Regions from separate parts of the Homo sapiens genome. Here all the other regions are linked to region 1. The links are contacts of gene promoters, found by promoter capture Hi-C in blood cells and fetal thymus (Javierre and others, 2016). All regions are on one chromosome and are shown on one strand. The core of a region is centred on a gene start or on the middle of the fragment in contact, and the rest is flanking DNA. Distances in the headings are between cores, read along the strand shown. Region 1 holds the start of KRTAP27-1 (keratin associated protein 27-1). Region 2 has its middle 7.7 kb from the start of KRTAP19-8. Region 3 has its middle 30 kb from the start of KRTAP19-8.

Region 1 (3,398 bases), core at 1-2,500:
GATCTTTAAACATACAAGTGTGGTTATTCAAAATTATAAATGACTTGCGTGTGTTACAAAGGTATTGTATACAAGATGAGTGTGCAGCCTATAAAGCTGAAAGTATTCAGATGTGCCCTTTTAAATTTATAATATCCTCAGTCTTTCAAGGAAGTGTTTGCATAAGAATTACTGAGAATTGCTGAATGTTCTTGGGCTTCTTCAGACCTTAGAAAGGGAGTCTAGTTAGTGCACTAAGACTATACTTCTATTTTATTGTCATTAGCTGAGCCAAATATATTATAGAATATGTTATAGAAATTGTGCTGGTTGGCTCTGTGCCATGAGTATGAAACTATGCTAAGAACGGTGTCCTAATGCGATAAACATAGGAACTGATCATCTGTCTGCAGTCAATAAAAAAAGCACAGAATAAAGATGAAAAATATCTGAAGAAGGTTCATTATAAAGGAAAATAATCAACCTTTGAGAAGCACAAACACAAGTAAACACACCACTTTGTCAAGTATAGAAAAAAGGAATTAAATCCATTAGTAATTCAGAAAAGGAAGAAATAACTCCTAAATGGGAAGATTGGGGAAGACTTCAGGAAAAGGACGCATTTAAACTTGGCTTTCAAGGAGATTAGGGAAACGAAATGTTAGGCAAAAGACAAGTATTTATTGGGCAATGGCCACACTCAGTACTTTGCATGAACACTGAGAAGGAATGTGATCACAAAGTCCTCTCACATTCTGGTCCACTGGAGAGAACAATATCTGAGTGGAATGAGATTGGGCTCAACCTGGATCCAATTCTAACTTTAAATGTCTTGAACATCAAATTACCACATTCTGCTACATTGGCAGCTCTCAAAACCAGTGCTAAATGTTAATCAGTATTCAGTTGGCCACTGCCTCATGCATTTCTCATTGTCCACTTACCAATGTGCAGAGTCATGGTGGCAAAAAAAAAAAAAAATGTTAGCTTGGTTGGACAGGTTTAGACTCTTATTTGACCAACCCCACCTTGAATGAGTCATCTTTGGAGCTAACATAAAAGCCATTTTGAAGATTCAAAATGGACTTACATCTTTGTTAATAAGACATCATCTGCATATATAACCAAAGTGGTAATGAGATGTTATCCTTCAAATTAGTTTAAGCAATGAGTTGCAAAGAAGTCTTGAGAAGCCAACACCCAGGTTTCTGAGTATATAATCGCCGCACCAAAGAATTTAATTTTCAAACTCAGCATGTTGAGTCCTTATGACCATCTTTAAGGATTTTTAGCAATATGCCTCATAGCCACTGCCATTCACTCAGGAGCTTCCACAATGCCCCACCACTCTCTGCCATCACACATGGCACTAATCCTATAACCTTTGAAGACAGATTGTGTTTGCCCAGCAGCTTCCATAGCAGAACCTGTTTCCTGGACAACTTTCAAGAAACCTGCAATGAAACCACCAGCTGCCAAATGACCAATTGTGAACAGGACTTATTCACAGACGATAGCTGTGTGCAAAGTAACTGCTTCCCCGGAGTTGTCCAAACTACTTACTCCAATTCCAGGCCCTGCGAAAGGACAGCGTGCCAATCAGAAAGTTCTTCAGCAGGGCTGGCTTGTGTTTCTCAGCCTTGCCAATCAGAAAGCACTCAGCAGATGGGTTTTGTAGCCCAGAGCTGCCAACCTGCAAGCCTCAAGGGAAACAGTTGCCCACCCAAGACTTCTAAGTCTAAAAATTTCGAAACTCTGGAACGTGCATCTAGCCAATGTCAGTGTCAGTCTCAGAACCCTGAATCCAGTTCCTGTAGACCTCTGGTCAATGTTGCACCTGAGCCACAACTCCTGGAATCTTCTCCAGGAGTTGAACCAACTTGCTGTGTTACTGGTGGTTCTCAATTGCCTAGTAAGTGAAGATCTGTAGGGGAGATGGCTTATATTCTCATTTGGATGAATTTATTTTTGAGATACTTAGATATTTTGTATTTCTTTAAATAAAAAATGTTGTGTGTGTTTGTTAGTAAATGAACATGTCTTATTTTACTACTGTCTCCAAAGACAAGATTTTTTTTCTTGTTTTTCTTTTGGGTATGTCTAGTGGTAATCTGGGGTTGGAAAGCATGCTAGCTATTTTAGAGCAGTAGGATACGATTTGTTATTAAGCAATAAGAGCTGTAGCCAGGAAATAACATGAATACTTAAAGGAAACATCACACTTTAACTGCAAGTTGTTTTCTTTGGAAATACTTAGCATTGGATCTGGTTTATTAAGTAATGTGCTACTAGTCTCAGAAATTCATAAAATATTGGAACCAAACCTAAAAGCCTACCTAGTCCTGTGAATTACGATAGGTTCAACTCTATCAGAGGTTGCCCAAGTAGTTAATAACATCAGAACCACAACTAAAATCCAGGCCTACTCACTGGCCATCTGTTATTTTAGCCATTGAATCACAACATTCTCAAATTAACTAGAAGATTAAGTCTATTGTTCGAATAGAGCAAGGTAATTTTGAATTTCACCTCCATGGGCTTTATAACCACGTAGCAACCAGAAGCCTTTAAATAGAATGAATTGAAGTTTAGAATCTTCACTTCATTTCGTTCCCGTTGTTTTTTTGGTTGTTTGTTTTTTTCCTGTTTTCATTATTTCTTAAGTATTTTTTGAGTTTGGAAAATATTCTTTGTATTAAATAAATTTGCTTTCTTTGGAAGCAAAATTTGGACTTGTCACACTATTATTTTTATTCAATCCTTTTGCAGGTGTTATGTTACAGGCTTTTTGTTTCTTCGTTTGTTACCTAATGAAAATAGTATAAATATTTAGAAGAAAAGAGAACATATCCTCTTGTTATAATTTTTATAGTGTGAACCAGAAAAGAATAACTCATGGTGGTAGTCAACAGAAGATGGAAAATATACTCATATGAACATCATAAGACCATAGAGTCAGATGTTTGAAATTGATTAATTTTATTTAGGTAGCTTAGCTATTCTGAAACTTTTGGTGTGTTCTTAAATTGATCTTTCAATTTTTTTTTTTTTTTTTGAGATGGAGTCTCGCTATGTCACCCAGGCTGGAGTGCAGTGGCGCAATCTCGGCTCACTGCAAGCTCTGCTTCCTGGGTTCACGCCATTCTCCTGCCTCAGACTCCCGAGTAGCTGGGACTACAGGTGCCTGCCACCATGCCCGGCTAATTTTTTGTATTTGTAGTAGAAACGGGTTTCACCACATTAGCCAGGATGGTCTCAATCTCCTGACCTCGTGATCCGCCTGCCTCGGCCTCCCAAAGTGCTGGGATTACAGGCGTGAGCCACCATGCCTGGCCTTGGATCTCACATTTTTTCAGGGCAAAATAAGGTAGTGGTTGAGAGCATGAACTCTGAATATGGATTTCCTTGAGCTGGAATCT
Region 2 (3,792 bases), core at 881-3,380, 710 kb before region 1:
GCAGTCTTAATATCTGCAGGGTGAGTGGGTAGGCTGGAGACCCAGGAGAGCTGATGGTGTGGTTCCAGTCTGAATCTGAAGGCCTGAGAACCAGGAGAGCCTCTGTTGTGGTACCAATCCAAAGGCTGGCAGGCCGAAGACTCAGGAAGAGCCTATGCATCAGTGTGAGTCTGAAGGCAGGAAAAAACCCATGTCAGTCAAAAGGCAGTCAGGCAGGAGAGATTCCCTCCTACTTGGGGGAGAGTTGGCTTTTTCCTTCTATTTAGACCTTCAGCTGATTTGATGAGGTCCACTGACACTAGGGAGGGCAATTGCTTTACTTAGTCCATTGGCTTAAATGTTAATCTCATCCAAAACACTTTCGCAGAAACACCAGGAAAAATACTTAACTGAATATCAGCTACCCCATGGCCCAGTCAGTTTGCTAGATAAAAGTAACCATCATACATAATTTTGGTTCCCATCAGTCTTGAAGCCCCCTTCCTCATCCTCCAGTAAACTGGCATTTTGTTCAAAGCTTCTAAGTTATTTAAAGTTTTACACAACAATGAGGGTGAGTTTTTAATCAAAGGGGTAGGAAAGGAAGAATAGGGTGAGGAGGGAATAGCAGAAGTAATTAAAAGTAATTGTCATAATTGCTTCTTGTTAAACCCAGCTAATTGGTAAAAAGTAACAAGGGAGGAGGCCATTATGCAAATATATGGCCACTCTGTTCAGCTCCAGTTGAAGATATCAGAGCAGAGAATGGGAACGTTTCTACTAGCTAGTTACATGATGATCTGTTCATTGTCCTTATCAGTAACCCTTCGCCTCTTGCAGCATCAGACTTCTGCAATCTTGCTGGTTTTTCCCAACCTGTCCAAATCCAATTCAGTATATTCAGAGACATTCCTTACCCTTAAGTTATACTATTTTCCTCTCTGTCTTCCAACTACTACCACCCTTTAATGCCCAGCTCAAATTCTGTCTTCCCCTTGATGCGTTCTGTGACTGTTTCAGTCCTTAGTCTTCCATTTTCTCTGTATTCTTTTCTTCTTGCCTTTTCTGTACACTGACAGCTGCCTATATGACCTGTGTTACTAGTGGCTGCTTTTCCCTGTTATTTCCCCATCAGGAGAGTAAAAAACCTTACAACAAAGCTCTGTTTCTTGTGTACCTTCTTTAGCACCAAGAACAGTCCCAGGAATAGAGTTGCTAATAGATACTTATGAATAATGAGTGACTCTAACATGTAAGCCAAATCCTATCGTTCCTCTGGGCAAAACTCTGTAATGACTCCTCATCTTACAAGAAAAGCTAAAGTTGTATAACAGACAACACAGGATAGTTTCATCGGATCCCTTGTCCCTTCTCTTCTTGTCTCCATAATTCTCCACCTTGTTCACTGGAGCATCACCTAAATTGTCTTCCATGAAAACCTCTCAAGTGTAGGGGTTTCCAAGTACTGTAAGGGCAAATACAAATAAAAATGAGAGGCTGGGCCTGTAATCCCAGCACTTTGGGGGGCCAAGGCGGGTGGATCACCTGAGGTCAGGAGTTCGGGACCAGCCTGGCCAACATGGTGAAACCGTGTCTACTAAAAATAGAAAAAATTAGCTGGGTGTGGTGGCAGATGCCTGTAATCCCAGCTACTCAGGAGGCTGAGGCAATAGAATCACCCGAACTTGGGAGGTGGAGATTGCAGTGAGCTGAGATCGTGCTGTTGCACTCAGCCTGGGCGACAAGAGCAAGACTCCATCTCAAAAAAAAAAAAAAAAAAAAGTGTCATTGTTTCTGTTGAAAATAAGGGAAGAGACCTCCTTTTTCTTAGAGCATTTGCTTTAGAAAACTTGTCATTGTAAATTCTCTGTCACTTTGGCAGGTGTCTTGATCCCAAACTACCTTCTATCATCAGGATATAAGAAGTTTATTTTTCCTTTGAATAAAGCCAATTGGGAAACACAGATGGCCACTGCAGTTACTCAGTGAATCTAGGATGAGCCATGTGTGACAAATCATGCTGCCAAGTCCTCTTATGGAGGCGTAGGTGTTGTTTATTTTGAGAACATGTATGTAACACTCTGTATCTGCTTGGCTGTATAAAAAGGTGAGACTTCTTTCTGTCTTCACAATTTCTTAGTGGGTCGCCTGTGATGTGTACCACGTTCTGGTTCAATGTTTATTCAATAATGAAATTGTTTTCTTCCTCTTCTTCCTTTGTGGGAAGTTTTCTGGGTTGGAGATATGTTGTTGTTAATTGTATTTCTCTAACACTGCCTGCCTGGATGTTTCTAGTTGTCCTTCATGCTACAGACTTCTATCTTGAGAAGGGGAAGGTGAGGACTTGTGTCTACAATTTCTTCCACTCTTTCTTTCATACTCCAGTGCATTATACAGAGTGGGTGCTACAGTCTGAATGCTTGTGTCTCCTCCAAATTCCTATGTTGGAATTCTAATCCCTGCGATGATTGTGTTAGGAGGTAGGGCTTTGGGAAGGTGATGAGGTAGTGAGGACATAGCCTGCATGAATGGCATTAGTGTCCTTATAAAAGGGAACCCAGAGAGCTAGCTTGCCTCTTCCACCATGAGAGAACACAGTGAGAAGGTGCCATCTATGAATGAGGGAGCAGACCTTCACCAGAGACCAAATCTACTGCCACCTTGATCTTAGACTTCCCAGACTCCAGAATTGTGAGAAATAGATTTCTATTGATATAAGCCATACATTTTATGGTTTTAAAAAATAGCAGCCTGAAACAGTAGGTTTTCTATTTCCTTTTTCTTCTTCGAAAGGATTTCACTATATTATATCCTTCTTCTTCCTGGTGGCATTAATCTCTACGCATTGTTTTTTTTTTAATAGCAGAAACTCTGTGATCTGTGTCTACTAGACACACATATATATATATTTAGTATGGGAACTGTTTAGTTTGGCTTCTCCCAGAAGTAGATCCTTAGACAAAGATTTTATTTGGGAGTAGTTTATTTGGGAGGGGGAGGGAACAGAGGTAGGGGAGTGGGAAAGTGAGAAATAGAGGGGAAGGTGGACAGCAAAGGGTGGGCCATTAAGACAGTTCCTGCAGTGGGTAACTGGCGCTTAATCTCCCGTGGAAACTGGAGGAATAGTGGAAAACATACATCAGAACTAGCCTATGGAGGGGCCAGGTAGCTGGGTCTTTATTAACTCCCAAGAGTCAGTGATTAAGGGCTGCTGGTGGGAGGGAGGGAGACATTCATTCCCTGGCACTTCCAAATGTTCTCACTTATGAGCAAAGCTGCTTCAGTGGTTCAGCCAAAAGCCAGCAGGCACAGCAATGTGGATTCCATCCGTGGGAGGTGTATTAGTCCATTCTTCGACTGTTATAAAGAACTACCAGGTCACGCCTGTAATCCCAGCACTTTGGGAGGCTGAGGTGGGCAGATCATGAGGTCAGGAGTTTGAGACCAGCCTGGCCAATATGGTGAAACACCACCTCTACTAAAAAAAATATACAAAAATTAGCCAGGCATGATGGTGCATGCCTGTAGTCCCAGCTACTTGGGAGGCTGAGGCAGGAGAATCACTTGAACCTGGGAGGAGGAGGTTGCAGTGAGCCAAGATCACAACACTGCACTCCAGTCTGGGTAACAGAGTGAGACAATATCTCAAAAGAAAAAAAAAAAACTATTAGAGACTAGGTAATTTTAGAAGGAAAGAGGTTTAATTGACTCACAGTTCTGCAGGCTATACAGGAAGCATGACTGGGAGGCCTCAGGAAGCTTACAGTCATGGCAGAAGGGTGAAGGGGGAAGCAAGCACCTTCTTCACATTGT
Region 3 (3,491 bases), core at 79-2,578, 730 kb before region 1:
GTGGAAAAAACAAAAAAAGCTTACAACACCTAAATTACAACGAATGGTAGTAATATGTCATCCATGGCAACTTCAGTATTCTCAAATTTTTTTTATTTGCTCAACCAATTCCACATATTGAAATGGCTTGATGGGGTGAGTCTTCCTAATTTTTATTTTAAATGGGGCTGAAAGTAGAAACTGTTATAGAAATAAACAAGAAGCTGTTTAAGGAGACAACCAGAGGGAGAAGGCAGCAAATAATCTTGGAAGATATAGGAGAAAGAGCAAGTCATCTTGCAAAATATGGTAAGAAAAATCTACCATCCCCGCCCCAGCCCAAGGGAGAGAGTAAGCCAGGGTACCCAGAACATGGAAAAGGAGCTTCAAAGTCAACCAGAACAAAATTGGAATTCCAGCCTTGCCACTTTCTAGTTGCTGATCAACTTTAGAAACATGTCTTAGCCTCTTTGATTTTCATTGTTCTTATCTGTAGGATAAGGCTAAAAAATATCTCCATTTGCAGGACTCCTGTGAGGATGAATTGAGAATGTAAAGCACTTTGGAGTGGTTGGAACATACAAAACATTTGACAAATGATGTAGTGTTATTGTCTTAATATATTTAATACAATATATATTCTAAGATATATTGAAATATGCATGCATTAAGATTTGACCTGAAAAATGGGGAATTATGCTTTATTATGTGAAAGTTAATAATCTTACAATAATTATGAATAGTAATCATATTCTTTTTTTTTTTTTTTTGAGACAGAGTTTCACTCTTGTTGCCCAGGCTGGAGAGCAATGGCACGATCTCGGCTCACCGCAACCTCCGCCTCCCGAGTAGCTGGGATTACAGGGATGCGCCACCATGCTTGGCTAATTTTGTATTTTTAATAGAGATGGGGTTTCTCCGTGTTGGTCAGGCTGGTCTTGAACTCCTGACCTCAGGTGATCCACCTGACTGGGACTTCCAAAGTGCTGGGATTACAGGCGTGAGCCACTGTGCCCGACCCATACTAATTCTTACATAAAAATGCTGAAACTTGAGGGTGATACAGCATAAGAAAAAACATAGGTTTGGGGTCAGAAAGTTTTCAGTTTCTTCTGATTGGTGGCTGAGATGTTTGGATAAGTCACTATAACTTGCTGAATTTCAGTGTCTTTATCCATAGAGAGGGGATAATAACACTTACTTTTTAGAGTTTTGGGAGGATTATAAAACAACTAATGAATATTGCCTGGCATATGGTAAACAAAAGACACCTGTTCTCTTCCCTTTTTGGTATTATTCTGAGACTACTATATAATCCTACTATATCTCATAGTCACCTTAGAATACAGACAGAATATAGAGTCTCAAAATCTCACAGATAGCATATAATATATTGGAATCATCAAATATAAATATAAAATTGAACCTGGTGAATATTCAAACTCTGCTAACTGATGCATCAGGGCTTCTGATGTGTCAGAAGTAAGTAAGTAAGTTGCTAGGTAATTTCTGTAGTACTAGGCCTTTACTACCTTAGAACAGAGAGGCCATTCCTTTGAGGCAGTTTTAATTGTCAGAAAGTTCTTAATATTGAACTGAAATCTCCTCCTGGCAATTTCCCTTCAGTGGTTATAGTTCTAGATGCTGATCATATTCACATCACAGCCCTTTGTGTATTTTAAGTCTGCTGTCTTAGAACAGCACCTGGCCGATGGTAGGTATTCAGCAAATGTTTCCTCAGTGAATGAATGAGCGGATGAATGGGACAAGAAATGAGAACCATTTTACAGTGTGAGTGCTTTACTGCCTATGCTGAGAATGTTAGCACAATTTCTTTTGCACAAAATGGTAATATATTGTATCAGTCATGGTACAATAAAGACAGCAGAACCATTACGAGTTTTATAGAATAAGGGATTTATCATAGTAATAAAGCCTTATACCATTATGGAAGGGGCCGGAGAAGTATAGTTTACAAGGAGGGGTTGGAGGATCAGAGAAATGTCTATAACCGTGCCTTTTGAAATGCTAGTGCAAGTGGACAAGGGCAGAGTTCACAAAGGAATGTGGGAAGGCAGGGGCAGCAGCTGAGGAATGAAACTGGGAAGGAGCCTGGGAACCCTGTTGTTGCCTTTGCATCTGGTTATGGGCCTGGAAAGATTGTTGGCCCGTGTGTTCAGGCTCTCCAGAGAGAAAGAACCAGTAGGATCTATCTGCCTGCCTGCCTATCTATCTACCCATCTATCCGTATATCATCTATCTGTATATCATCTATCTATCTGTCTATCTCCATCTGTCTATCATCTGTTTATCATCTATCTATCCATCCATCCACCCATCTTTCTATCTATAGAATTGGCTCACGTGATTACGACGGCTGGGAAGTCTAAAATCTGCAGGGGGACTGGCAAGTCTGAGATCCTGGAGAGCTGATGGTGCAGATAAAGGCTGAAGGCAGTCTGTTGGAGAAGTTCCTCTTGCTCAGGGAGGCTGATCTTTTTGTTCAGTTCAGGCCTTTAACGTATTGGATGAGGCCCACCCACATTGTGGAAGGCAATCTACTTTACCTAATAGTTCACTGATTTAAATGTTAATTTCATCTCAAAATGCCCTCTGAGTTGACACATAAAATTACCTATCACAGTCAGCAAAGCTTGCAGTCAGGAAGAAGAGCTAGATACAGAGGAGGGAAAACATGAATGAGGGCTGGAATCTGCCAGCACTTCTGCTTCTATCCCTTGTTGCACTAACAATGATGGTCTTTGAAGAGTCAATGGCTGCCGTTCACTTCTGCCTTCCAAATCTTGCTCAGGTTTCCCAGAAGATAATTCTGGGAATCATAGTGCTAGTAGACCAGTTGGCATGCATAAAACTACGTAGTCAACCCATTGTTAACTTGGCACCATATATACCTTTTTAACATATATTTAACTTTCTAACTTGATGCAACCACCCCCCAAACAACCTAACACCTGCTAACCTTCTTGCCCCAAAAGGATACAAAGTCTCATGTGTCATCTAATCCATCTCTGGGTGATGTTATTACCCTTTTTTTTTTTAATTATACTTTAAGTTCTAGGGTACATGTGCACAACGTGCAGGTTTGTTACATATGTATACATGTGCCACGCTGGTGTGCTGCACCCATTAACTCGTCATTTACATTAGGTATATCTCCTAATGCTATCCCTCCCCCCTCCCCCTACCCCATGACAGTCCCCGGTGTGTGATGTTCTCTTTCCTGTATCCAAGTGTTCTCATTGTTCAATTCCCACCTATGAGTGAGAACATGCAGTGTTTGGTTTTTTGTCCTTGCGATAGTTTGCTGAGAATGATGGTTTCCAGCTTCATCCATGTCCCTACAAAGGACATGAACACATCCTTTTTTATGGCTGCATAGTATTCCATGGTGTATAAGTGCCACATTTTCTTAATCCAGTCTATCATTGATGGACATTTGGGTTGGTTCCAAGTCTTTGCTGTTGTGAATAGTGCCGCAATGAACATACATG

What was found. The method cuts DNA at HindIII sites, captures the fragments that hold promoters and counts their contacts. A CHiCAGO score of 5 or more calls a contact.
Region 2: a fragment that was not itself captured here is called in contact with the fragment with the promoter of KRTAP27-1 in region 1 in 1 of 17 cell types (activated CD4 T cells); the score reaches 5.1 in activated CD4 T cells.
Region 3: a fragment that was not itself captured here is called in contact with the fragment with the promoter of KRTAP27-1 in region 1 in 5 of 17 cell types (naive CD8 T cells, M0 macrophages, activated CD4 T cells and 2 more); the score reaches 8.5 in naive CD8 T cells.

The regions. Positions count from the first base shown.
Region 1 is chr21:30,335,546-30,338,943 of GRCh38, reverse strand. KRTAP27-1 (keratin associated protein 27-1) reads left to right here and starts at 1,250. Exons shown (of 1, transcript NM_001077711.1): 1 at 1,250-1,931. The coding sequence starts at 1,276. The coding sequence ends at 1,899. The HindIII fragment of the contact is 10,696 bases long and covers 1-3,398 here.
Region 2 is chr21:31,044,248-31,048,039 of GRCh38, reverse strand. No RefSeq gene overlaps it. Among named protein-coding and RNA genes, the nearest start is that of KRTAP19-8, 7.7 kb to the right of the region's middle. The HindIII fragment of the contact is 3,221 bases long and covers 520-3,740 here.
Region 3 is chr21:31,066,434-31,069,924 of GRCh38, reverse strand. No RefSeq gene overlaps it. Among named protein-coding and RNA genes, the nearest start is that of KRTAP19-8, 30 kb to the right of the region's middle. The HindIII fragment of the contact is 2,613 bases long and covers 22-2,634 here.